Regions from separate parts of the Homo sapiens genome. Here regions 2, 3 and 4 are each linked to region 1. Evidence: promoter capture Hi-C in 16 types of primary human blood cells and fetal thymus (Javierre and others, 2016). All regions are on one chromosome and are shown on one strand. The core of a region is centred on a gene start or on the middle of the fragment in contact, and the rest is flanking DNA. Distances in the headings are between cores, read along the strand shown. Region 1 holds the start of TMEM207 (transmembrane protein 207). Region 2 has its middle 59 kb from the start of SNAR-I. Region 3 has its middle 23 kb from the start of GMNC. Region 4 has its middle 43 kb from the start of GMNC.

The links. The method cuts DNA at HindIII sites, captures the fragments that hold promoters and counts their contacts. A CHiCAGO score of 5 or more calls a contact.
Region 2: a fragment that was not itself captured here is called in contact with the fragment with the promoter of TMEM207 in region 1 in 1 of 17 cell types (neutrophils); the score reaches 6.0 in neutrophils.
Region 3: a fragment that was not itself captured here is called in contact with the fragment with the promoter of TMEM207 in region 1 in 1 of 17 cell types (neutrophils); the score reaches 6.9 in neutrophils.
Region 4: a fragment that was not itself captured here is called in contact with the fragment with the promoter of TMEM207 in region 1 in 1 of 17 cell types (neutrophils); the score reaches 8.5 in neutrophils.

The regions. Positions count from the first base shown.
Region 1 is chr3:190,445,072-190,452,439 of GRCh38, reverse strand. It overlaps TMEM207 (transmembrane protein 207), which reads left to right and starts at 2,539. Exons shown (of 5, transcript NM_207316.3): 1 at 2,539-2,705; 2 at 4,613-4,650. The coding sequence starts at 2,631. The HindIII fragment of the contact is 654 bases long and covers 2,179-2,832 here.
Region 2 is chr3:190,933,627-190,940,994 of GRCh38, reverse strand. No RefSeq gene overlaps it. Among named protein-coding and RNA genes, the nearest start is that of SNAR-I, 59 kb to the right of the region's middle. The HindIII fragment of the contact is 3,626 bases long and covers 1,029-4,654 here.
Region 3 is chr3:190,836,263-190,843,630 of GRCh38, reverse strand. It overlaps a transcript of GMNC not described here. Among named protein-coding and RNA genes, the nearest start is that of GMNC, 23 kb to the left of the region's middle. The HindIII fragment of the contact is 3,416 bases long and covers 985-4,400 here.
Region 4 is chr3:190,815,753-190,823,120 of GRCh38, reverse strand. No RefSeq gene overlaps it. Among named protein-coding and RNA genes, the nearest start is that of GMNC, 43 kb to the left of the region's middle. The HindIII fragment of the contact is 2,131 bases long and covers 1,714-3,844 here.

The sequences.
Region 1 (7,368 bases), core at 1,290-3,789:
AAGATGCTACCACTGGGGTAAGCTAAATGAAGAGTATATGGGATCTCTGTAGTAGTTCTTAAGACTGCCTGTGAATTTAAATTTATCACAAAATAAGCTATTTTAATTTTAAGTATCTATTAAAAAAATTTTGCAGGTAAAATTGCACTCATGGTCAGATTTTGTATTCCACAACCACCAAACTCTCATGATGCTAGGAAGGAAATGTACTAGAAAAACTACTGTCTTAGAAACTGTTATGCTGGACGTTGGAAGTGGCATGGGAAAGTCACAGAAGTAAATGGATAAATGGCAAGGTGGAAATGAATATAAATTTTGATTTTAGCACCAAATATAATTGCTGTGTTTGCATTACTATTGTGACTATAGACTCCATCTCCATTCAGCTGCCATACTCCTAATCAGGCAGCTGCTGCAGAATCATGCATTTTTTTTGACAATAATTACTTAATCCATGTATGTAGTTGGTCATTATTGCAGTTTCTGAGGCAAAACCAAATATGCTGCCCTTATTTCCATTCTGTCTCTTCTCTAGTCATCTGGCCTCTTCCTTTCCCAGAAATTCTTAAGATCATTGACTCCACCGACGGAAGTCAGGCTTCTGACTGCCTAATAAATAAGTTCACCAGTGAAAAGCCTATTTTTCATTCTGTTTAATTACAGGCTTCAGAGACACTCAAAATGGAGCGTATCTGGGGGATAAATAATACTGTAGGTTTGGTTTACTTTTCTCCTATTGGCATTGGCACCAAGCCTTCCTCTGCTTTGAAATTCATGGCTGCGACCGTGGCTGCATACTAAACAGAGCGTAGTCACCACACAGACGGCTTCACCCATCCAGATGCAGCTCAACTAGTCCATATACCGCGATGGCCAACTCTGTGCAGTAGTTTAGATACCTAATACTGCTGGTTTGTTTCTAGAGCAATCTATGTGTGTGATTGTAAATGGGTTCATACATTACAATTTGAATTGGATGTGGTGAACTACACTGGAGCTTGAATTACGATATTCTCATTCTGCATTGTGGATCATTGCCTTCAAAATTGGCTCTTAGAAGTGAATATATGTAAAAAATAATTAGATGACATATAGACATTGTAAAAAATATCAAAAATACAAGGAAGTAACAGTGAAAAGTAAATTTCCTTCCCACTCTGGTCTTCTTAGTTTGCAATTTCCCTTTCACAGAGCAACCACTGTTAGCAGTTTCATGCAGAGACATCCTATGCATATATAAGTATATATGCATAAGTTTTGTGTACGGAGAGAATACTATAGCTCTACCTTCCTATTTTTGCATACAAATGTGACATGATGTACACAAAGTTCTGTGATTTTTGTTCCTTTTATTCAATAACTATTACAGACCTCTCTATATCAGCATCTGTGATCTGTCTCCACCTTTTAAAACAGATTCCTAGTATTCTGTTGAATTTATATAACCATTTTGTACTTAGTCTGTCACATTTTCATGAATATTTGCTGTTTCCAATATTTTGTTAACACCAACAATGCTTCGATGAACATCATTGCATATAGTAATTTGTGCCATGTGTAAGGGGTACATTCATGTATCTTGCAAGGAGAATTCTTGCTCTAAGGGCATATTTATTTTTTATGTTGATGTATATTGCCTACTTGTTTTCCAAATAAGCTGTACAGTTTTCCCAACCGTATATGAGAGTATTTGTTTCCCAGTATTTATCCCTCTTCCCTATATTATCAATTTTTTGAACTTGCCAATCTGATTATAATTCTAAGGTATGTTTATCTAATTATGACTGAGGTTAAGCATCTTAACAATCATTTGTTACATTCTTTCCACATAACCATTTAGCTCTTCATTATACCCTGAAAGATATCCATCTTCTCTCCACTAGTTTCAAATGGAAGCTTAAATAAATTTGTTTATTTGAGTCTAAACTCTCCATTTCTAAACTCTCTACTCTTTTACATTTACCTTATTATTTACACATATCAGTACTAATTTTTGTAAAATGCATAGATTAAGACATCTTAATGTACAATAGGTTAGTGCCTTTTCTTTTTCTCAGAATTTCCCTAGATATTCTTGCTTTATTTTTCAGTGGTAGTGATGGAGTTGTTTCATAAAATAAACATTGAAATATACCTTGTTTAAAAGAGGGGTATTATCACAATAAAACAAGGAAAGCTTTATGCCTAAGTTTGGGTTAGACCTGGAACTGAAAATGGTGTGTAGGAGAACAAAGAGTACCAACAAAGGGAAGAAAATTGAATAAATGTTCCAAATATGAAATACTATTAGAAACCCAGAAGTTCCCTGGAATAAAACATGCACTTGAATGTGGAAAGTTATTAAGTAGCCAGCTAGCTCTGTAGGTCAGCATTTATAACCCCTACTTTTAAAGGCCTTGACAAACAGTGCTAAAGTTCTCACCTTAAACTTAAATTCCTTGGGCTCTTAGTACCTGTAAACATGTACCCAACATTCCTTCCCCTAGCATGCACTTTACGAGTCACAAGGAGCCATTATTAATGCATGTCCTGGTAGGAAGCATAACTTATAGAGAAGCTAGTAAGTTCTGAGAAAGAAGGAAATAAACACAGGCACCAAACCACTATCCTAAGTTGACTGTCCTTTAAATATGTCAAGATCCAGACTTTTCAGTGTCACCTCAGCGATCTCAACGATAGGGATCTTGTGTTTGCCGCTATTCCAGGTAACTATCTCTCTTTCTGGGTTAAGGTTTTCAGAGGTACTCTGAGGTACTCTGAGGACTTGATTTGCTATAGATTTATATGTGAGCAACTTAACTGCTTCTACATTTAAAAGATTTCCTTCAAGCTTTACTAGCATCTTATGATTTCTTGTATTCACTGGTCAGAGGGACAAAACAAAATGTCCAAGGCATTAGTCTTATTTCTCCTTCAATTAGTTCTATTGCTACTGAAATAACGTGATTGCAAATTTAACCTTTGTTTAACTTTGCTATGCTGTAATTTTTTAAATTCAAAATGCTATTGACACAGAACAAAATGCTATGGCTAGATTAATTTAAGACATGTTTACTATTGCCTACAACCATACTTGATGCTTGACAGTTTTTCAATGCTGACTGATGTAGACAGAACCATTTTAGGATTTATTTCAGTTCCTCTGCTCCAGCATCCCCTTCTGACTAACACGTGCATCTCTAGATCTGTGTGACTTCAATGCAAGGTATCTGAAAGATTTAGATCTAAAGTAAATTATAGCTTTCCTTACCTCTTCATAATAACTGGAAGTTTGACAGCTAATGTGTTGGCAGTGAGGTGCTAATAATTTAATACTGTGTACTATTGCTAGGGTACAACACACAGAAAAAACACGGAAGTGACTTGAAAGTGAAATACTGGTTTTATTTGTTTATCTGTTAAGCTGGATCCCAAACGATTTCATCTACTCATAAATAAACTTTCTTTATGGACAAAATGTGAATGTTCATTTTCCTTTCACTTAGTATGCAAATCTATTTGCAGCATTCTAGCAAAAAAGAATGCAACTCATTTTCTGTGCTTATAAATTGTTCATTACCATGCTCTCTGATGGCCAATTCATGGCTCCATCTGCAACTCCACAAATCTCTTTGCCCAGATAAACTTGGTGGAGTAAATACAAGGTGCTGAAGAAGATGCTTTTGGGATTAAGGGGGGAAAAGACACATCTCACACAGAACTCCCAAGTCTATCACTTTAAATTTTGTAACTTCTTACTTGTACTTTTATTTGCGTGTTATAGTCCAGGAAAATAAATACTTCAACTGACTTCATCAACTAAGTGTTCAGAGCTACACATAAATGCCGTTTAAAGACTTTCTCCTTGTACAAGGAAGGAGTCCTGGTTCAAAGGGTCAAGCAAGCAAATAGATAATAAGATCTTTAGAAAGAAGTGCCTTTTTCCTTGTGATTTAGTATATGAGATGTTGTAACCTATGACACTCAGTGCAGATAACTAAGAGCATTATTTTAGAATGCTTATAGTATTGGACTTTTCAAACAAAGCAACAAAGATGATTACTTTTTTTCTCTTCTCTGATAAAGAGAAGACTGTAAATCTCAACTGGAATGTCATGTGATCTTAAATGGACCTTACCCTTAGAGCAGGTTAAAGTCGCCCTTTCATGAATATATATTTAATGCCCATTAATGCTAATAGGCTTGACTTCTGTTTCCATGTATGTACTTGGAACTTGTTTTTTTTTGCGTGAAAATAATACTCACTAATAATGAACCTCTGACCTCTAGCTACAACATGAAAACAAAAAATGCAAAGTGCACAAAAGCTCTTTAGAGCAAGCAAAATCTGCATATAGAAAAAACAAAAATTGTCGTAAAATCCATTTATATTGGTATGTAGAAATGGAATCTGGTTCACAATATATATCTTCTGCCACTGCTGAGCTTAAGAATCCACCCAGAGATTTTTTCAATTAAAATTCTGTGTACCAACAATAAACTCTGCTATAGAGCTTTTAATTAAAAAAGCAAACGAAATGATATAAACCCACATTGTCTCTAGGCGCTGCTTGTATTAAAGGATTAGACTGATGAGATGTTTGGATTTTATTGTTCTAAACATGTGTTTCAGTTGGTGCTCTCGGACCTACCATGCGAAGAAGATGAAATGTAAGTAAACAGCGAAAAACTCCATGTTTTTATTTCGCATTTAAAAAATTCAAAGTATAAAAAAGGCTCAAGCCATTAGAAAAAGCCCAGTTGAGTTTCAAATGATCATTATAATCAGAAGAAAAGTAAATGGTTTGTAAATGCAGATGGCTCCATTTTTTTTTCTGAAAACAGGAAAGATAATTTTCATTACGATCAGCTTTGTTAAATAAATAAGAGGCCTAGTTGATTTCTAGATATTTTTGCACACTGAATTTATCTTCCTTAAGGTTTCAAGGGTACTTTAAGTTCATAAAAGAATCATGATGTCATCTATGGCTTCATCCACACTCAAAAATCACAGTGACCAAGGGAGGCAGTTTTCTGTATAACTCAGTTTAAAATACAAGCAAACTGACCAAAATTCTAACCTGTACTGTGTGTCTATTTCAAAGTGCTTGTGATATGAATTATGTGAACAATTGACTCAATTTTTTCACTTTTTGTGCGATAGACTTAATGGTTCTCAGAATTCTATTCAGGAGATGAAGAGAAGGTGCCATTAATAATGATACTGATAATTAATATCTGTAATTCATTGTGATTTAGTATCAGAAAAGCACTTCCACCCAGCACTATCTTCTCCTGCTTGCAGCCCTTACTGTTAGCAGCTGTTTTCAGTCTTCATTGCCTGTTACACTCAAAGCCATGCTCTCTGTATAGCAGGAGGCTATGACTGTATTTCACAGCAGAAATTGGGACCATTCACCTGCTTCTGGTGGATCTTCTTATTGTTAACAATCTGCTTATTAAATTTGTGCTGCTCTTTCAGCTTTTGCATGGCTCTCGATTGCTATTTCTTTACGTTAATTTTGGAACTGCTTTTTCACTCTGTCTTATGCTGTTTGTGATGTAACAGAGTATTTGATTGTTTGCATGCTTATCTGACTCAGGATTTCCTGGCTGCCCTTATCTTATCTCCTCATCTTCTGCCTTTGACCCAGACTAACAAAATAAAGAAGTTCAGAATTGGAAAGGATCTTAAATGTTGAATCTAACTCTAATCAACGTGACAGAAACATACGGTATTAAGAAAGTTTTTATGCTGACTTTAGCGGTAGCTGAGGCTACCGCTCTCCCTTTTAGGTGAAGGGATTGAAACCTAAGAGAAATAGTAAATGAGTAGTAGGGCTTCAACTGGTACTTAGGCATCACATTCTCTGGCTACATCATTTTGCAACTAAGTGTCTGTAATGGTTATCATTATTCAATACAATTGCTTTTGAGTAAAAACAAAAAAAAATTAACCCTCAAATGAAATGTAAATTGGCAGAAAATAAACACAAAAAAGAGAGTGGCTGGGAATGTAGGGTGGTCATATAAGGTAAGTAAATGTATTGAAGACGTGCACAATATCTCAAATCTTTTGTTATCGCAAGACAGTGTCAGCGGAATGAATCTGTAAGGAAAGTCATGCTGTTTTCTGAGGGAGTAAAAAGTCCCCTCCAAGAAAAATCCTCTTTCTCTAACTATATTTATACAAGAGATTTCAGTTTCAAATCACTTCTTTGATCTGAGACATTATCTCCTGATAAAATACACTACCCAGCCAAGAGACCATATTCATCCATTTACCAGCACTGCTATAAGAGAGTAACACACAAACATGGCAGATTACAGTGAAAAGGACCGTAAAGATGGCCTACTCCAAATGTCTTTTAAAAAATGAGAAACACAAAAGGACAGTAGCTTGTCCAAAGTTCACATGCAAAATGGACACAGAAAAGGGAGACTTGGATTGGAATGCAAGGGAGCATCAAAGTAAAAACATGAAACATGGATCGCCTAGGTAGAGGCCATGGTGGAGGAGGTGCTGATTAGCTAGAAATAAAAACATATGTATTAATCAACTTCTATGTTCCAAGAATTGTGCGAAACAATTTGCATATATTTTCCATTAAAACAAACAAACAAACAAAACTGGTCGACCGGGCGCAGTGGCTAACCCTGTAATCCTAGCACTTTGGGATGCCAAAGTGGGTGGATCACCTGAGGTGGGGAGTTCGAGACCAGCCTGGCCAACATGGTGAAACCCCATCTCTACTGAAAATACAAAAATTAGCCGGGCATGGTGGCACGCACCTGTAATCCCAGCTACTCAAGAGGCTGAGGCAGGAGTATCGCTTGAACCTGGGAGGTGGCGGTTGCAGTGAGCCGAGATCGCACCACTGCACTCCAGCCTGGGTAACAGAGCGAGACTCCGTCTCAAATAACAACAACACTGGTCTATTTTATTATTCCCTATTTAAATTTGTTTTCAACACCAGGGTACGTTTTTCTGATCCAATCCAATTATTTTACTTTTCTAACTGTATTTTTAACATGAACAAAGCTTTGCTGTGCTGTCTTTGTATAAAATTTAAATGCTATAAGTAATTTATTTTATGAAATAAAGCATGACAGAGCCCCTCTTATCATACTTCTGACTTAGTCCTCTTCTGATAAATAGCCAAGGACACTGATGTGCATGAATGAACAAAAATAGATTGATTTATGAAATATAAATATGACTATACATATAAAAGATTCTGTAAATTAATTGCATTGATAGATTTTCTAATGATATACCACATCTTGCTTGGCTTGATAAAGTGAAATATCTTACTCAAGAGTAGGAAAGCAAGTTAAAAGGCAGAGCTTGGACTTGGACCTGGGACAGACTCCTGAGCCCAGAATTTC
Region 2 (7,368 bases), core at 1,592-4,091, 490 kb before region 1:
TGGACTATTATAAAAATATCTTATCAGCTTGAATACTTTGCACATGGAAATATGATCTGTTAAAGTCTTTATTTTTCTCAGGTTTTTTCTTAAATTGGAATTTGCTGGTTATTAAGGCTTTGTGTAAGTAATATTAATGTTAGTTTGCCATTCATTTTTGTTGGTAAAAACAATATTATAATAGCATTATATTTGTTATATTATATATGGTTTTGCCTATACTATATGTTGCATGATGTTTATTTGTTTGCCTACATGTTTGTATGTGTGTGTGCCTTTAAAAGTAGGTTTTTGCCCAAGTACATAGTATTTTAAAAAAATAGGAATGGATTTCAAATAAATCATGCATTCTGCCTAATGAAAATGTATTATACTATTCTGCTATTAGTGAAATGTAAAATGTATTATATTATTCTGCTATTTTAGTATTAGTCTTTATTTTTAATTTTTTTAAAGACAGGAAGTGAATCTTAATTGGCTTTTTATACCACTGTCTACTATAATCTGGTATTAATTAAAATATAAATATTTAATTATTGAATGACTGAATGGGAGCAACTAAGAATAGAGGAGACTTTTGTGTCCTCCTATTATAACATGAGGAGTTATTACACTTGCCCGTTATTCAGAACAAATGAATAAATTAGTGAGAGGAAAAACAAAATGCTAAAACTTATGAAGGACAGAGCATGGCTAGTATTACGGACAGTGATCCCAGTGAAAATTTACTCAGCTCAGTATTTATTGTAATTTATATATGATCATTGTATTAAATTGGTAACAGGAGACTCTGGGTTAAAATTTGAAGTTGACTATATATTATTTTTAATCAATCTTGGTTTTCAAAAATAATCCACAACTTCTGGTCTGGAGCAGATTGCATGCACCTACTCTTCCCCAATAAGTACAGCTATAAACCCTGGCAATAATGCAAGAGACAACAAAAAACAGTGCTGAAAGGGGATAAAAGAAAGCCCAAATGATTTGGGACCCAAGGACTGGCAGAAAAACTTAATGGCAAGAAAGCTTATGATCCCCACACTCAGCAGAAGTCATCGACCTTAGAGTTTCCCAGCCCTAGTGAAGCGACAGAAGGGAAGCCAGGTTGGCTCATTCCCCCTACCCCTGACTGAACAAGAGTTCACTAACAGTACCAGGAGAGCACGGCACCACAAGCAAGGTAAATCAGCTGGGAGTCCCAACTGCAATCAGCAGCCAGAGAAAGCAGATTCTTCTTCCATGTAAGCCTGAGACTCCTTTTCCACCAAGAGACACGGGACAGCTGGGCAGCAACAGCAAAAGGGGTGCTGTCACAATAAGCAGCACAACAGGGAAGATTATTATATCCCTGTGGGCATAAGACCACCTCTCCCAATGAGAATTATTACGTGGTCAGCTGGGCAGCAGCAACTGCTGCTAGGTTAAGGAGTTAAACCTAGGAAGACATTTTGGTCCTAAGGTTCTGAAAGTAGATGGGTAGGTGGAAATCTCACCATAACAGTGTTCTCCGTCCCCCACAAAAAGAAAACCCCACCAAAATGAAACTCCTGTCCAAGGAAGTCAACTGATCCCAGAGAGCTAGAGACTTCTTTCCTTGATTGAGAAACACCTTATAGCACCAGTTGTGGAAACTTCTTCTGCCTTCTTCAGGCAAGAACTGCAGGGACCCATGGGGGCCCCAGCAGTACCGTGTAAATCGAGCAGACCAAAATAACACTGCAAAGATCTGAAAGTTAAACTGTCAGAGAAATAGCAACCCACAAAAGTATGCCAGGATCTAGCTAAACCTAAACAGAGGGGCTGTCTTCTAGAATAAGAGATTTTAGAAGACCCGAAGTCTCCTAATATAAAATACAAAATATCAAGTATACAATTGAAAATCATCCAGTTAGCCCAAGAACCAAGAATATTACATCTTGATGAGAAAAAGACAATCACTGGCACCAGCACCAAAATCAATTAGATGTTGAAATTTTAGGGCAAGAAGTTTTAATCAGTGATGGTAACAATGCTTAAACAATGAATTACATATTATCTTGAAGCAAAAAATATAAAATTTCAGCAAATAAATAGAAGTTATTTTAAAAAATGGAAAACACAGACCTAAAAGAATACAGTAATAGCATTATAAAACTCACTCGATGGACTCATTACCATAGAGAGCCAATGGCTAGTTTATCCGCTGATAAAATAACTAAACTTGATAGATCAATAGAGGATAAAATAACTAAACTTGATTGATCAATAGAATTTATCCAATTTGGACAAAAGAGAGAAAATAGAATGAAAAATAAATATAACGGCCTCAAAAACTTGTGACAATATTAAAAGATACAGCTTTGTAACATTAAAGTTTCTGAAGAAGAGGAAAAATAGAGTGGGCCTAAAAGCCTATTCAAAGAAATAACAGCTGACAACTTCCCAAATTTGGCAAAAACACACAAACCTACAGATTCATGAAGATGAATAAAATTCTAAACAAGATAAATCCAAAGAAATTCATGCTAACACTAATCATAATTAATCTTCTGAAAACTAAAGACAAAGAAAAAAATGTTGAAAGCAGCCTGATATGAGGTTTCCACACTTCACCTAAAGTGGTTAAATGTTGATGTCTGTAGGCTGTGATAAATTACATACGTATATCATAGTTCCTAGTGCAACCAAAACAAAAATTGTAGAAAGAGATATACTCAAATACATTATCACAAATCAGTGCATGTATGGAGCCATACAATGTGTTCATGTAACCCGCAGGAAGGCAAAAACGAGAAACAAAGCCAGAGCAAGTAAGCAAAGAAAAATAATAAATTGACAGACTTAAGCTCTAACATATTAATAATTACCCTAAATGTAGAGTCTAAATAGATTAATCAAAAGACAGGTTGGCAGCTAAAGTGAGCAAAACAAACAAAAAATCCAATTATACTCTATTTACAAGAAACTCACTTTAAAATCAACAACATATGTAGATTGGAAGTAAAAGTTTGAAAAAGATACACCATACAAACATTATTTTTTTTTTTAAAAAAAAGCAGAGTAGCTGAATTAACATCAGACAAAGTAGATTTCAGAGAAAAGAAAACATTACTAGAGATACTACTAGGGACATCACATATTTGCAAAGTGACCAATTCACTGGGAAGACGTAACAATTCTACATGTGTATGTACCAAACTAGAGAACATCAAAATATATGAAGCACAAGCTGACAGAACAGAGACAGGCAATTCCACCATTCGAGTGGGGATTTCAGCACAGCCCTCTATCAATAAAAATAACAGAGAAAAGAGAAAAATCAATGAAATTGAAACTATAAAAATAGAAAAAAAAAATCAATGAAACAAATCCCTAGTTCTTCAAAACGAGTCAACGAAGTTGGTAAATCTCTAGTAACACTGACGGAAGTAAAAAGAGAAAGGACACAAATCACTAATATCAAGAATAAAATAGGGACTATCACCCTGTAGTCATTGAAACAATTATAAGGCATTACTTTGAGCAACTTTATGCTGATAAACTCAACAACTTACAACAAATGGACCAATTTTTTGAAAATCACAAACTACCAAATCTCACTAAAAATGAAACAGATAATTTGAACACCTTCTACAAAATAAATGTGTGATTAAAAAGCACCCAAAAAAGAAATTCCCAATTCGATAGTTTTACTGAAGAATTCTGGCAAACATTTTGAAATCCAATACCAATTTTATGTATTTTCTCCCAATATTTCTCTGTCACCAAAAGAAGACAAACAGTTAAAAGAAAATAAAAAAGACTGGTGTCTCTCATGAACTCAGACACACAAGTCCCCAATAAAATATTGGCAAACTGAACTTAGCAACGCATGGGAAGAACTATGTAACTCTGCAAAGCAGTATGTAAGACTGGTTCAATATTATAAAATCAATTGATGTAATTTCTCACATCAACAGGCTAAACACTAAAATCCTATGAACATACCAGTTAATACAAAAGAAACATTTGTCAAAAATCCAAACCCTATTCAGTATAGAAACCCTCAGGGATCTACAGATAATTTCATACTTTATGGTGAAAAACGGAAGGCATTTTTTCCTCTTAAGATCAAGAACATGGTAAGGATGTCTATTCTTTTCATTCTTATTTAACATAATACTGAAGTTCTAGCCACTGCAATAAAGCAACAGAGGAAAAGGGAAATAAAGAGAGAAAGAAAGAAAGAAGGAATGAAGGAAAGGGAGGAGTGGGGAGGAACAGGGAGAGGAGGAAATGAAGGGAGAAAGAGAGATAGGAAGGGAGGAAAGGAAGGAAGAAAAAGAGACAGGCATGCAGATGAGACAGAACAAAACAAAACTTTTTGTATTTGCACATGACATAATTGTGTATGTACAAAATGTCAAAAAAATTAGGGGAAGGGGAATTTCTATAATCAATAAGTGAATTTAATGAGGTAGGGTAGCATTATACAAAATCAACACAAAAATATCAGTGTACTTTCTGTACACTAAAAATAAACATACATTAGCTGGGCATGGTGGCATTGGCATGTGCCTATAGTCCCAGCTACTTGGGTGGCTGAGGTTGGAGGATCGCTTTAGCCAGTAGTTCGAGGTTATAGCGAGCTATGGTTGTGTCACTGCACCCTACCCTGGGTGACAGAGGTAAAGCTTTGCCTACAAAAACTAAAATAAAATGAAATAAAAGAAAATAAAAATGAGCACATAGAAACAAATAATACAATGCCATTTAAAATCATTCCCTCAAAAATAAAATTCTTATGTATGCACTTAATAAAACATATACAGCATCTGTATGCTGTAAAACAATGACATCGATTATCCTTACATTCATCTTCAGGTTTCATGCAGTTCCTATAAAAATCAGAGCAAGATGTATTGTAGATATAAACAAATTAATCCTAATATTTATATGAAAAGGCACAGGACCTAGAATAGCTTAACCAATCTTGACAACAAAGAATAAAGTGATGATATCACTCTACTCAATATTAAAGCTTGCTTAAACTACAAATCATGACTGTGTGGTATTTTTAGAGAAATAGACACATTGATCAACGGACTAGAACACAGAACCCAGAAACAGACACATAAAAATATGCTCAACTTAATTTTGAGACGTTCCAAAGGTAGCTCAATGCAACACAGATAGCCTTTCAACAAACCGTGCTGGAGAAATTGGACACATAAGGAAATTAAAAAAAGAACTACAACCTAAGCCTCACACTTTATACAGAAAATAACACCAAGTGGATCATGCACTTAACATAAAAGGTAAAACTATACAACTTTTAGAAAAGATTCGAAATAAGTCTTCAGCATAGGTAGAGTTCTTAGACTTGATACCAAAATCATGATCCATAGAACGAAAATCTGATAAATTGCACTTCATCAAAATTAAAAACATTTGCTTTATGAAAGTCCCTATTTAGAGGATGGAAAGGAAGCTACAGGCTGAGAAAAAATATTTCAAGCCACATATCTGACTTATCTGACAAAGGACCAATATTTAAAATATATAAAGAACTGGATATCAGATGAAATATGCACAAATAAGCACATGAAATGCATTCAACATCATTAGTCATTAGGTAAATACAAATTAAAGCCAAATGATATTAATATATTACCACACACTTATCAGAGGGCTAAGAGGATGAACTGAAGCAGGTGGGGTGTCACCTCACTTGGGAAGTGCAAGGGGTTGGGGATCTCCCTCCCCTAGCCAAGAGAATACTTGAGGAACTGTGCAGTGAGGCACAGAACACTCTGGCCCAGATACTATGCTTTTCCCATGGTCTTCACAACTTGCAGGCCAGGAGATTCCCTTGGGTGCCTATGCCACCAGGGCCCTGAGTTTCAAGCACAAAACTGGGCAGCCGTTTGGGCGGACACTGAGCTAGCTGCAAGAGTTTTCTTTTTTTCATAACCCAGTGGTGCCTGGAATGCCAGCGAGACAGAACCGTTCACTCCCCTGGAAAGGGGGCTGAAGCCAGGGAGCCAAGTGATCTAGCTCAGCGGATCCTACGGATCCTACGACCGCAGAGCCCAGCAAGCTAAGATCCATTGGCTTGAAATACTTGCCGCCAGCACAGCAGTCTGAAGTCAACCTGGGATGCTCGAGCTTGGTGAGGGGAGGGCGTGCACCGTTACTGAGGCTTGAGTAGGTGGTTTTCCCCTTACAGTGTAAACAAAGCTGCCTGGAAGTTCGAACTGGGTGGAGCCTACTGATACTCAGCAAAGCTGCTGTAGCCAGACTGACTCTCTAGATTCCTCCTCTCTGGGCAGGGCATCTCTGAAAGAAAAGCACCAGACCCAGGCAGGGGCTTATAGATAAAACTCCCATCTCCCTGGGACAGAGCACCTGGGGGAAGGGGCGGCTGTGGGCGCAGCTTGGGCAGACTTAAATGTTCCTGCCTGCCGGCTCTGAAGAGATCTCCCAGCATATCGCTTCAGCTCTGCTAAGGGACAGACTGCTTCCTCGAGTGGGTCCCTGACCCCTGTGCCTCCTGACTGGGAGACACCTCCCAGCAGCAGTCAACAGATACCTCATATAGGAGAGCTCCAGCTGGCATCTGGCAAGTGACCCTCTGGGACAAAGCTTCCAGAGGAAGTAACAGGCTGCAATCTTTACTGTTCTGCAGCCTCCACTGGTGATACCCAGGCCAACAGTGTCTGGAGTGGACCTCCAGCAAACTCCAGCAGACCTGCAGCAGAGGGGCCTGTTAGAAGGACAACTAACAAACAGAAAGGAATAGCATCAACATCAACAAAAAGGACGTCCATACAGAAACCCCATCCGAAGGTCACCAACATCAAAGACCAAAGGTAGATAAATCCATGAAGATGAGGAAAAAACAGCACAAAACAGCTGAAAATTCCCAAAACCAGAACGCCTCTTCTTCTCCAGAGGATCACAACTCCTCACCAGCAAGGGAACAAAACTGGACAAAGAATGAATTTGACGAATTGACAGAAGTAGGCTTCAGATGGTGGGCAATAACAAACTCCTCCGAGCTAAAGGAGCATGTTCTAACCCTATGCTAGGAAGCTAAAAACCTTGAAAAAAAGGTTAGAAGAATTGCTAACTAGAATAAGTTTAGAGAAGAATATAAATGACCTGATGGAGCTGAAAAACACAGCATGAGAACTTCATGAAGCACAGGCAAGTATCAATAGACAATTTCTTAAAAATACTAACCATTCAAAATTATAATGTGACCCAGCCATTGTATTCTTAGGCATTTATCGCAGAAAAATGGAAACTTATGCTCACTTAAAATGTACACCTGAATATTTGGAGCTATTTGTTCATAATAGCAAACACCAGAAACAATCCCGACATCCTTCAATAGGTGAATGGACA
Region 3 (7,368 bases), core at 1,443-3,942, 390 kb before region 1:
GTGGAGTTTGCTGTGTGGGAGGGAGCCTGGGACACAATTTCCTTCCAGAATTATAAAGGGAAAGCAGGGCAGAAACCTTTGTGCCATTATGTCATTGCCACTCATCTTACTCTTTTTAAGGTGCCCCTGCTGTCCAAGGCTTTAACTAAAATAGAGAGGAGAATATAGCAAATATATGACAACCTGCTTTCTCTTTTCTCTTCTAGCTTGTTTATGGTCGAGTTCTACAACCCCATCTAGGAAATAATTTTATCTCTATGAAATGTGACTATTATTATATATCTGTAATACTGTGTTCAACATCACAGCTGAATTTTTTTAACATTTTTTTCCATTGTATGACTACTGTAACACGTTCAACCCCACTACCACATGAGAGATGGATGGCTCAGCTTGTCTAGGTACAAAGGCATATACATAAAAGATGAAAGAAAAAAGCATTTCTACCATATAAATAATATTAATCTTATTAAATATGAGAGAACTAAGAAAATATTTATTCCAATCTTTTTATCCATGGATTTTAAATTTAATCAATAGGCTTTGGAGTCTGTTTTAACCAACATTGTGAGGAATGCTGACATATTGAATGATTTTAGAAGCATTTAGTCCTCAACTTTACAAAGGCTGGTTAAAGCAGACTTCCTATTATGCCTAGACTCAACCCAAATGTAAGATAATCAGTTGTTAAGTTCCCCCAAAAGGCTCATATCTACACTCATTAGAATAGATGCTAATTTTCTACTTAACAGTTACATGGCTTTATGCAGATTATTTAACCTCTTTAGAACTTTGCCTCATTTGTAATATTGGCAACACTATAGTGCTTAACTCAAGTTTTGACACAATGATTGAATGAGTTACACTGAAATATTTAGAACTAGTCCTGACACATACTAGGTAAGATGCAGAAATGTTAATTATTATAATCACTACTATTATAATCATCTATAAAGAAACACATCAAGGTAGAATAAGAAAGCTTGGAAATGCAAATTATGAGAACTGGAAAAGATTTTCTAAACCACATAGATCAATTGAGTGTAGCTCCTGCGAGAAGTGCAATCAGAAAGTAGGTAGTTCAGCAAGGGATAGAGACTCTGAGAGTGGAAATCTGTGGCCAGTCAAGTTATGATGACTCCAACATGGTATCATTTTGCTCTTGAATTGATCTCTTTCCCTGTAATTATTGTTACCATCAACATATATTGGACCCATAAGACATTTTCTTTACTTCAATATATGATCTCTGATAAGACTTTTGTTCCTTTAGCATTGTGGGAGAAAGAAAATCATTTATTTTTACAAAACATTGGTATATTTTTAATCACATATGCTTATATGATACATATTAGAAAACAAAACTAAACACATAAAGCAATACACATAGAGCAAAAATACACATTTATGTGTAGAAGCAAAGATGAGAAGTATTTTTTAAAATACACATTTATGTGTAGAAGAAAAGGTGAGAAGTATACTGAAATGGGCATAGTGACTTTGGGAACTGCTGATTTTTTCTTTTTGTTGTATAAATTTTCAAACGTGTAAAAATAGGGAAAATCCTTTATGAGCCCCATGTACTTCAACAATTATCAACATTTTCACATCTTGTTTGATCTGTTCAGAACTACTACTATATTATGATCACCATTTTGAGTTCTTAAAAACAGGTATAAGATATCATGCCATTTCATCCAAATCACTGTAATATACATGTTCAATTATAAGTAACCACTAGACCCTTATCACATCTAACAAAATTAATATTAATTCCTTAATATAGTTTTTTACTTCTTAGTAAAACCTTTATTTTGTAACACTCTTTTATTCTATAACAGCCAAACTTATCTAATACTTTTCTATACAGCATTGATTTGTTAAATAAACTGGCCATTTGTTGTACAGAACTGACTAGTTTTTGAATATGTGAATTCATTATGCATGTTTTCATATCAACATATATAACTATTATTATTTTATGATTGCATTGTGTGGTATTTTATTATACATTGTAACTTAAAGTTGTTGACCATCCCAAGATAGAAGAAAAGAAAATAAACACAAAGAAGAGTAAAATAACTTGGCTTACAGCACACATATTTCTTATCTTTCTGTGGTTGTCTTTTTTCAATATTTCTAGTGCATATTGTATTTTAATTTATTATTAATACATAAATCTAGAAATAAGGGAAAGAAGGAGGATATGATAGTGAGAGAAAAGAAAGGCACTCCACTGTCTTTTATTTTTTCATAGACTAGATTACTTAATCCTAGCACTAATGTTGTATTTCTACGTGAATGGTACCACTTTAACATGTACCATTCAGAAATTCCCTCCTAAACATTTTAACTCTTATGTAAGTAAGACTAAAAATAACTTAGTTTTATATGCAAACTGGAAAGCATTAAAGTATCCAGTCCAAAGAGGCACATTTCTTCTATGGTTTATTATCATTGAGAATAACGTCACTTTTCAGGAAGGATCCTAAGTCATTTCAATTATGAAAGGTATGCCTTTGTAAGGAGTTCAACAGATTGTGAGTCCTAATCACACTTTGATCACATTGCTTTCATAAAAGAATAATATACATGCAACTATAGCACCATCAGTATCATTACAACCCTTTGTTTCGTTTTATGAAATACAAAAATCTTAGATCCAGAATTTTAGTATTACTTAGTCCAATTCACATGAAAAACCTAGAAATAGAACATTGGTCTCCTGAAAATTTCTACTAAATAACCTATTGTATAAGAAAATGTCATGTTTAATAAGCATATTTGCAATGATAAAAAGAACTTTAATTTATGGACAAATTTGTAATTGGAAAAAAATTACTTCAGCACAGGTATTTGTCCCTGGGCAACGGGAGAAAGGAGTTTTGGATTAGGTAATTTTTTAATGTTCTCTTCAGCTCTAAGGCTCTATGGTTGATTAGTTATTTAAAAAGGATGGTTATTAAAGTAAAACAACTGTCTGAAGACTTTAGTGGATATTTACAAAATGATTATAGTTGGGTTTTACATATTTTTGCCACTCACTCGGTTTGTTTTTTTTTTTTTTTTGAGATGAAGTTTTGCTCTTTTCGCCCAGGCTGGAGTGCAATGATGCCATCTGAGCTTACTGCAACCTCCGCCTGTCGAGGTCAAGCTATTCTTCTGTCTCAGCCTTCTGGCGATTCACTCTTGAACATATATTTATTGGTATGAGGAAGCAATAATTGTCCTGTTGAACCCAAGGTGCACAAAGTGAACAAAAACATCCTCCATCACATTGCTCTGGCCAAGGTGCTGAAATCAGTCCCTAAAATTGCATTCCAAGTATCAAATCACTTAAGTAAGTACTAATTGTTTTCTATTGTATTTTTAATTACATTCAAATAAAATACATATCATGATACCAAAAATGTGTCTTAAGATTTCTACACCCCTAAAAAGTAGGCATCTGTAACAAAAATTACAGCTAGCACTAATCATTAAAATGACATTGTAGCCTGTTTAAAAATACTAGGGCTCTTTTTTGGTTTCATACAAATTTTTAAATAGTTTTTTCTAGTTCTTTGAAGAATGTCAATGGTAGTTTAATAGGCATAGCACTGAATCTTTAAATTGCTTTGGGAAGCACGGCCATTTTAATGATATTGATTTTCCCTATCCATGAGCAAGAAATGTTTTTCTTTCCATTTTTTTGTGTTGTCTCTGATTTATTTGAGCAGTGGTTTGTAGTTCTCCTTGTAGTGATCTTTCACCTCCCTAGTTAGCTGTATTTCTAGGTATTTTGTTCTTCTTGTAGCAATTGTGAATGAGAGGTCATTCTGACTTAGCTCTTGGCTTGATTATCGTTGGTGTATAGAAATGCTAGTGATTTTTGCATATTTATTTTGTATCCTGAGGCTTTACTGAAGTTATTTATCATATTTAGAAGATTTGGGCTGAGTCTATGGGGTGTTCTAGCTATAGGATCATGTTTTATGCAAACAGGGATAGCTTGACTTCCTCTCTACCTATTTGGATGTCCTTTATTTCTTTCTCTTGCCTGATTACCCTGGCCAAAACTTCCAACACTACATTGAATAGGAGTAGCAAGAAAGGTCAACCTTGTCTTTGTCAGTTTTCCTGGGGAATGCTTCCAGCTTTTGCCAATTCGGAATGATATTGGCTGTGGGTTTGTCATATATGGCTCTTATTATTTTGAGGTATAATCCTTCAATACCTAGTTTATTGAGAGTTATTAACATGAATGTTTGTTGAATTTTATCAAAAGCCTTTTCTTTTTTTATTAAGATAATCATGTAGTTTTTGTCTTCAGTTCTGTTTGGTGAATCACATTTATTGATATGTGTATGTTTAACCTTGCATCCCAGGGATAAAGCCTACTTAATCATGGTGGCTAAGCTTTTTGATGTGCTGCTGTATTCAGTTTGCCAGTATTTTATTGAGGATTTTTACATCAATACTAATCAAAAATATTGAAATATTTTCTATCCCTAATGTCTCCCCTCATATTTACTTGGCTTACCATCTGTAATTAAATGTATTTGACCCATATATCTTAAGGAACACAAATCAGTTCCATGGCTGGTCATTCAACTAATATATTGTCAACATCCACTTGTATCTCATCCACACAGTAAAAGTTACTTAGTGATTACCATGTACAAGGCCACATTGCTGGGAAAAGGAACAAAAAAATGAGTATTGAGGATAAGACAATTACAAATGTGCATAATATACACGTTTTTAAATGATACATACCAGAAGAGAATTAAGAATAGAAGCATGAAGATTTAACGTAGAAAGGGCTTACTTTTAGCATGGGAGAGGTAGTCATTAGAAAAATATGAAGACTGAAAATGTAGCAATTGATCTGGACCCTGAAGGATTCTTAAAATTTTGAATAATGGGACCTAGAAAAGCATTTGAGATGAAAGAAAAATAGTGAGATCAAAATAATACGGAAGAAATTTAGGGTGGATTAAATAAATAAATAGTAAATAAAATTGAAAAATTTGGTGTTAATAAATTACACAGAGACTTCTATTCATCCAGAAAAAAAAATTACTTCATTTAAACTCACCTTTAGAAAACAGGAATGCATATAGACTTATGAACAAGACTTACCTACTTGCAATTATTTTTCAGGAAGATAAAGATGGTAATAAATGGAGGGCGGCAATGAGAAGGAAGTGGAATAGGGGGTTTCATGAATACCCTGCACTGGCCGAGGTAATAAAGCAGGAAGTCAGAAAAGGCAGTATGGCCTTGTCTACAACTCCTCTAATTTCCATAAAGAAATTAATTCATAATAATCATAATTTTCAAATAAGCTAAAATTATTTATCTATCATTGTAGTTATTTAAATATAATGTTAATTGGGTTCTTAATATGAGATACTCAATATTTTCAGCTTACGAAATAAATATGTTCATAATACATGTCATCGTCTTCAAGGAGTTTATTTCTACTTTGGGACACGACATGCAAACAGATAATTCACATCTCATCCTATAGTAGCATAAATGAGAAACATATTGAGAGAATTTAGCAGTATAATGTAGAGAAAAGAATTTTGTTGTGAGAGTGTGTAGGTCCGAGTTCTAATTCTGGTTGTCACTTATATTCTGTGTGACCTTGTGTCCTAAGTTATCTTCTTTAGGAAAAATGATTCAGATAGACAGATATACATGCAAGAGATTTTCAGAGGCGTGCTCTCAGGAACAGCGTATCTAAAGGAATATGGGCAAGTTTAGAAAAGAGAAAAATTGATCAATGATACCGTCAAAACAAAGCCCTCAGCCAACTCCATGGAGAGTTCTGAAACTGAGATGGCTCTTCAGAATTAAGGCAAAGGGCCAGGCTTTGGACCTTGACTTTGGAAGTGGGATTAACCTTGAGGGGGGCAGCTCTCTTAAACTGAAGTCGGTTCCTGAGGAAGAGCTCAGGAGTCTATACACCTGGCATCTGAGGGAGTAAGTACCTTCATCATGAAACAGGTTCTAGGTGGTGTAACACAATATTCCTGGTAATGTACTCTGTGAGCTTCTCAGCTCTACTTGCTTCAGTGGTAAGTTCATCCCACCTGGGAGCAACTCTTGCAGTATTTTGGTTGATCTTTGTTTTTTTTCTGGATAAACCTGTAAGAATTATTTTATTTTATTTTATTTATTTTTTTGAGACAGAGAGACAGAGTCTCACTCTCTCACCTAGGCTGGAGTGCAGTGGCGCGATCTCCACTCACTGCAACCTCTGCCTCCTGGGTTCATGCCATTCTCCTCCTCAGCCTCCCAAGTAGCTGGGACTACAGGTGCCCACCACCACGCCCAGCTAATTTTTATTTTTGTATTTTTAGTAGAGATGGGGTTTCACTGTGTTAGCCAGCATGGTCTCGATCTCCTGACCTCATGATCCACCCACCTCGGCCTCCCAAAGTGCTGGGATTACAGGTGTGAGCCACCACGCCTGGCAAGAATAATTTTAATGTGACAAACAGCAGGGCCCACGTGGCAGTTCATCTTACGACTGCAAGTGATAGTCATTATTTTTGTTCATAATCCATTCTAGGTACACTTAATTTCAACTAACACCTCTGCTTGTCTGGGTAACTTATGTGGTAGTGACACAAGTAATAACCCTGTTGTAATCTGAGGCCCTGGTCACCATGATCTTTTCAGGCTGTGTCTTATGTACTTGTCCATTTAGCATCAAATTGTGCAAAAAGGCACCAAGAATTGCTCCAGTGGGCCAAACAAATGCCAAGCATTTCCTCCTTATAACTGTTATGTAACAGTAGCCAATCCTCCTCCTGATGACCAGGATCAACTACTCATGCCAATGTAATGATCCTTTCCCTTATCTGCTACACTGTTAGCATAAAGAGCCCAAATGACTTGGTGGCAACTTTAGCTTAAAGTTCTATGGGACTGTTACTGTGGTGCTGGTAAAGGAGTTTCTCCCCAGGAATAGGGCCGCTAGGCCAACAGAGACTAAGGCACAAGTCCTCCCAGTGAGTTAATGGAGTGAGTAAGTGGGGCCACTCTTATCTCCCATTTTTGATATGGGACTCACATATTCTATGTAATGGAAGCATAGTACCATAAAATGGTCATTGATTTAGGGTGTAAACCCCATCCTGGAGGATAGCATATCATCTTTGTAGGCTATCAACTCCAAGTTGGTGCCTTATTTGCATCTACTCTATCAAGTTGGCAGATTTAGGATGGGAGGGCATGTGATATGCCCACTTCCATACCTTTTTTTTTTTTTGGCATAAAGTAGCTTCCTTGTTCTGAGATGGTATTATGCAGAATCATAAGTGATACATCAAAACTCTATAAATTCTTAAATAGTGGTGCTGATCAAAACCC
Region 4 (7,368 bases), core at 1,530-4,029, 370 kb before region 1:
CCAGGATTGCCCCTTCACCAACTCAACTTAGCAACCTTGGGGTTCAGGTTCAGATCATAATTAGACCAACTGTAGTGGCAGCAGGCTTCAGTCTTGCCCCAGAACCAGGGAAGCTCTGGAGGATCTAGGAATACAGACTCCAGGCCTACCCTAGCAGACCAAATCAACACATTCACCCAAGTGTAACCAGGCTTCAGGCTCACCTACTTGCTAACCCAGGCTCCAGGCCAGCCAGCCCAAAGACTCCAGCAGGAATTCTGCTTAGTACCATATCAGATGGCCTGTCCAGAATCTCTGGGCTGGCTATCTCTGGACCTAATATTAATCAGCATGAAAGTTTTATCCTGTTGCATTTCTGACCTGGGTTGGCTCAACCATCCTTAAGCAACCTGGTGGTCCTCTGCTTTGTGAAATCACCATATTGATGCTAAACTTAGTGTGGACACCCAACCAGCATAGCATAATACAGCCCAGAACTCCTGGGCTCAAATGATCAACTATGTTTAAATTAAGATATGCATATTATTCTTATAGACATAATGCTGTTGCACACTTAATAGACTACAGTATAGTGTAAAAGTATTGTTATATGCACTGAAAAAACAAAAAAAAAGAACAGTGTGACTCACTTTATTACAATATTTGCTTTTATTGTGGTGGTCTGAAACTGAACCCACAATATTTTGTGGGTATACCTGTAGTGTCCTTTTCTTTCAGCTTGAATAACTCCCCTCAGCATTTCTTATAAAAAGGCCTGCTGTTGATACTCTCTACATCTTTGTCTTGGAACTTTTTCTCTCTTTTATTGCTGAAGAACAGTTTTGCCAAGTACAGTATTATTTGTTGGGAGTTTTTTCCTTCAGAATTTTGAGTGTTATCTCCCTTTCACCTAGCTTGTAAGATTTCTGCTGAGAATTCAGCTGTTAGTCATATTGGAATTCCCTTATATGAAATTTGCTTCATTCTCTTGCTGCTTTCAGAATACTCTTTGTCTAATTTTTGATAGTTTGACTATAACAGGACTTGGGGTGGTTTTGTTTAAACTAAATCTCACTTTGATTTATTTATGACTTTTATTTATTTTTATTGACTCATTGTACTGCCTAGGAGTCCTAGAAAAAAGTTAAACAGAGGTTGTGACATCTTCTATTTAAAAGACATCCTTTTCTTTTACTTGAATTTAGTGGGGAACATTTCTACATTTCACCATTACATATGATGCATGCACGATGTGAGTTTCATTTTGTTATGATGCTGTTTATTAGATTGAGGAAACTGCTTTCTATTTCTTATTTCTTGGTCATTTCTGCCATGAAAAGATGTGAATTTTGTTGAAATATTTTTCTGCACATCATGAGATAATTATGTTACTTTCTACTGCTCATTAAGTTGTGTTATATTGGCTAATTTTTAATGTTAAGTCAAACTTGTATTGCTCGGATAAAATCTACTTGATCATTGTGTATTGTCTCTTTCAGATATTGTTGAATTTGACCTGCTAATAATTTGTTGATTAATTTTATGTCTATGTTCATGAGGAGGATTGGTCTAATTTTTTTCTCGTTTTGTACTTAGTAGAGTTTCGATCTAGATTACTCCAACTTCATAAAGTAAGTCTAGACTTGTTCCCTCTTTCTTATCTTCTGAATGAGTTAGGTAAGACTAGTTTAATTCTTCCTAAATATTTTGTATAGCAACCAGTAAGGCTAAGCTTAAAATATATTAATAGAATTTTTAAAAACTCTGCATTTAATTTATTTAATAAATACAGAAATATTCAGATTTGATTCTTTTATTGGTCAGTATGCTAGGAAGAATTCTGAGATAGCCTTCAAGTTTCCTTCCTTCTAATGTGCATGCCTGGTATATTCTCCTTCAATGTGGGATGAACTTGTGTTATGAGTAGTCAAATTAAAAAATATATATTTGTTTATTTATTTTAGTAGAGATGGGGTTTCCCCATGTTGGCCATACGGTCTTGAATTCCTGACGTCAACTGATCCACCAGCCTCGGCTTCTCAAAGTGCTGGGATTATTAGCGTGAGCTGCCTTTTTCTTTTCTACTCATAACACCTTATTATGCCCAGTCCACTTTCAAAGAGAATATACCAGGACTTGTAAAATCCCATATGATGGCATTTTATCATATGATTATGTAATTAAGCAGATGACTGTGAGTTCATCAAAAGCAGGATTCTTGCAGATAGACCTGGCCTAATCAGAGAGCACTTAAAACAGGGATTCTGCCTCTTGTTGAAAAGAGAGATTCTCCTGTTGATTTAAAAAATGAAAATTTTCATGTTGTAGAGATTCAGGAAGTACCGAATGACCTCAAGGACCTAATATCCTCAATTCTACCAGAACTGGAAGAATTGGAAGAGGACTCTGAGCATCAGATAAGAACACCGGCTAGATAACACCTTGGTTTCCGCCTTGTGATACCATGAGCAGAGAACCTAGCTGCGGTATGCCTGGACTGGTGATCTACAGACATGTTAGACAATCTCATTCTAAGCCTCTGCACTTGTGGATATTTTTTAATGCAGAATTAGAAAACTAATAATGTCAGATTGGGTAAATTGTGTTTTTCAGAAAATTTGTTCATTGTTTCCAAGTTGTAAAATTTATACATGTAAACATGTTCATAAATTTTTATATTTTCGACGTCTATAAGATCTGTAGTTATGTCTTATTTTCATTTCTTTATTAGTAGTAAATATTTTTTCTTTTTTCCCCTTGAGCAGTCCCTCTAGATATTTATCAATATTATTAATATTTTCAAAAAATCTGCCTTTTTCCTTATTGATTGGTGTTCTTTTACTCTTTTTAAATTTTATTTTTTTAAATTATTTTATTTTGTTACCAGCAGGATCAAGCAGGTAAGTTTGCTCTTGTTTTTATATAACCAAGTTGCAACCTTATTTTATGACCTTAATACTTTTTACTTTCTAAGTATTTAATGCTATAAGTTTTCCTTTGACATTCTTTATGTGCACCTCATAAATATCGATGTGTTAAATTTTTATCATGGTTTGGTTTAAATTATTATTTCATTTATTTGTGTGTGTTTTTATTGTTGGTGGTGGTGAGTTGTTTTGTTGTTAAATTTCTAAGTATTGGGTGCTTTTATAGATATTTTGTTACTATTACTTCATAACTTAGTTCTGTTTTGATCAAAGAACATATTCTATATGATTTCAATCTTTTCAAATTCAGTAAGATTTGTTTTATGACCCAGTTTATCATCAATGTTGATAGATGCTGCATGTGCACTTTAAATAACTATATAAAAATCCCAGCTTCTGCTAAGGAAGTAAAGAGCTTAAAAGGGTATTACTCCTACACTCACAAGAACAGCAAAAAGTGGCCAATTTTCAAATTCCCAACTTTATTTAAACGCATCAGACAGTTCATGTGTTGGGACAAACAACTAACCAAAAATATAAGAAAAGGTAAGCAGCAACAGAGATCACCTGAGGCAGAATCTTCCTGGCCATAGTGAGAAAAATTTGGCTAAATTCGTTAACATAAATTTGCCAAAGGCTGAGTGTGAGGTAGCAAAACACAAAAAAAACCTGTGAAGAAATTTAATACTGACTCACAGGCTCTTGTTCACAGACCTAGGTGGGTGCTCAGCAAGAAAGATTGGAGTAGGGCAAGGAATATGAGCAATCAATCATTCCATACGATGCAGATATGGGGAAGGGTGGATGCAGATATGGGGAAGGGTGATTGCAGCTGTTGCATGGAAAGCACAAAGCCCACGTAGATTCTTCTCCTCTAAATCTCTTATAGAACAAAATACTTGCACCACTGATAGAAAGATAATATATTCTGTTAAGCTTAAGACATTGGTGGAAACTTGTTGTAGCTGGATAACGGCACAATAAATAAATCTATTTCTTAATCAGAGAAGGTCATAAATACTTAGTGAGGTCAAACTTATGATTTATAATGCAGTACAACCACTGAGAAGATAGAACCTCTAATAAGACCCAGGAACACAGTGCCTATCTAAAACTAAGGGAAATTAAAAACAGAGAATATTTTCAAACCTCCTCTGAACCAGGCTAATAAGAGTTGGATAACAAGTAACTGCTGTCTACTATTGAGGGAGGGAAACAGCATGAATGAAGGCATTCTCTGAAGTACAGGACCAAAAAAAAAAAAAAAGACAAAGCTCAGAGTAGAATAGATATTAAGAAAACCCTCTGGAAAACTCATCTCCATTCTAAATGAAAAGTAACACTAGAGGAATTTAAAGCCTGTACTGCACTAAGAGTAGCCATAACAACTGAAAAATCCAAAAGCAAATCTACTTCTCACTAGGTTGAGTAATCAAAAGCTGAAAAGGTGGAGAGCCATGCCCATTTCCAAGCACAAAAACAATTTAATTCAGTCTCTACTGCTCTGCAAAAGATGTCTAGCCTAAAAACAAAAATAAGAGATGTACAAATAAACAAGAAAGAGCAACACACTGTTACAAAGCAAAGCAATCAACAAAACCAAACTCAAATGTTACACAGATTTTGTTATCAGACAGAAAAATTAAAATAACTATAATTAATCTATTGAAGACTGTAATAGAAAGGTTTGCACTATGCACAATCAGATGTGTAATTTCAGCAGATAGATGAAAACAAAAGAAAGAATAAAATGGAAATGCTGTAAGTAAAACACACAGTAACAGACATAATGGATTTCTTCAATGGACTTATCAGTAAACTTGACATGGTCAAAAAAAGAATCAATGAACTTTAAGGTAAGTCAACAGAAATAACACAAATTGAAAAGCAAAGAGGGAAAATAAAACCTTTTGGTTTCGTTCACTTGTTTAAATAAAAAACAAGATGCAGCCTCTCAGAATTTGTGGAAAATATCTAAAGGTTTACCATGTATGCAATTGAGCTGAGCACGGTGGTTCGTGCCTATCATCTCAGCACTTTGAGAAGCCTATGTGCTTCTTGAAGGATTGTTTGAGGACAGGAGTTCAACCCCCTCTCTACAAAAATTGTTTTTAAAAATGAAATAAGTGTGGTGGTCTGCACCTGTAGTCCTAGCTACCTGGAAGAATGAGGCAGGAGTGTTGCTTGAGCCCAAGAGTGCAAGCTGTGTTTGCACCATTTCACTCCAGCCTGGGCAACAGACCAAGACCCTGTCTCAAAAACAAAACAAAACAAAATCCAACAACAACAACAAACTATATATGTAATTGAGCTGCAAGAACAGTAGGACTATCCAACAAACTCATATAAACTTAAACAGACCAGACACAAAATTCTGAAAGCCAAAGAGAACAACATTTTTAAGACAACTAGAGAATGAAAGACGCGTTATATAGAGAGAAACAAAGACAAGAATTACAGTAGACTTACCATTAGAAGCTATGCAAATCAGAAGACAATGGAGTCTCATCTTAATAGCACTGAAAGAAAATCACTAACAACCCAGAATTCTATACTTTAAGCAAATTTCTTTTAAAATGGATAAAGACTTATTCAGTGAAACCAAAACTGAGAAAATTGATTGTTAAGATTCCTGACATGCTGTCAAGAAGTGCTAAAGAAAATTCTTCAGACAGAAGAAATATAGAATCTGAAAACTGGATATTCACGTAGACACAAAAACAGAGTACTAGAAATAAAACAAATAAAAAGATATGCATAATGTATTTTTCCTTACTTTTCATAGCTCTAAAAGAGCTGAGTTCCTTCTGCAGGTTCTAGAGGAATATCCATTTCCTTGTCTTTCCCTATTCCTTGAGGCTCCCACATTTCTTGGCTCATGTCTCCCTTCTCCCTTCAAAGGCAGAAATAGCAGGTTAAGTCCTTACCCTACACCACTTCAATCTTGCTTTTATTGTCACACCTTTTCTGACACTGAATCTTCTGTCTCCCTCTTTCGCTTTTACGAACACTTGTGGTTACATTTGAGCCCAATCAGATAATACAGGATAATATCCCTACTTTAAGTTCTGATGATTAACAACATTAATAACTCTTTGCCATGTAACATAACACATTCACAGTTTCAAAGTTCTAGAATGTGTACATCTTTGAAGGCTATCTCTCTACACCGCACAAGTATTGACTTTAACTAGAGTAACTGTAAAATAAATGTGTGTTTTACTATTATTTGATGAAGCTCTGTGTACATTTCAGCAGGATTAAGTTGATTAAAATCATTGCTCTATTAATTCTAGACTTATTCTATCAATTACTAAAAATGGTGTTCAAATCTTCAATTATGATGATAGATTATTTTTCTCTTCAGTTTTGCCAGTTTCGTCTTCTTGAGGAATTGACTCTTTCATCACTCTGAAATATCCTTCCTTAATTTTGGTAATACTTCTTGTTCTAAAATTTATTTTGGTTGATATTAATATGGAAATGCCACCTTTTAAAATGTTTGAATATGTACGGTATATTATCTCTCATACTTTTCCTTTTAACCTGTCTCTGCATTTGTATTTAAAAGGTAATTTCTGTAAGCAGCATATCATTGTTCTTGATTCCATATTCAGTTTGACCATCTTTGCCTCTCACACAGAATATTTAAACCAGTTTAATTATATGTAAGTATATTTTTTAAGTGTACCATCTTAACCATCTTGGATTTTAAAAAAGTATTTCACCTGTTTTCTGAATATGTCTGATCCTCATGTCCAGTCTTCTTTATGGTCAATCATGACTTGTTTTGGTATACATTTCTAAAATTTAACTGATCACGCTACCCTCAAATAATGTCAGACTATTTCATAAACACTTTAAAAACCCTACAGTAACATAATTTCATTGCCCCTCATATTTTTTGTACTTTTGTTAACATGTATTTCAATTCCATATGTTATAGACTCCTAAATAACTTCTGCATAAACACAGGTGTTATAAGAAGTGTGTGAGTGTGTGTTTAGACAGAGTTAAAAGATATTTTATATTTATCTACATATGTACACTTTCTGGTTATTTTCATATATTTCTACAGAACTGGACTTTCATCTGATGTAATTTTTCTTAGCTTGAAGAATTTCTTTTTATGTTCCTGTATTAGTCTTACTGCAGTATATTCTCTCAGGTTTTCTTTTCTTTCCTTTTCTTTTTTTCTTTTTTTTTTTTTTTGAGACAAAGCCTCTTTCTGTCACCAGGCTGGAGTGGAGTGCAATGTCACGATCTCAGCTCACTGCAACCTCCACCTCCCAGGTTCAAGCAATTCTCCTGCCTTAGCCTCCCGAGTAGCTGGGACTACAGGCACCCGCCACCATGCCTGGCTACATTTTGTATTTTTAGTAGAGACGGGGTTTCACCATGTTGGCCAGGATGGTCTTAATCCCTTGACCTTGTGATCCGCCCACCTCAGCCTCCCAAAGTG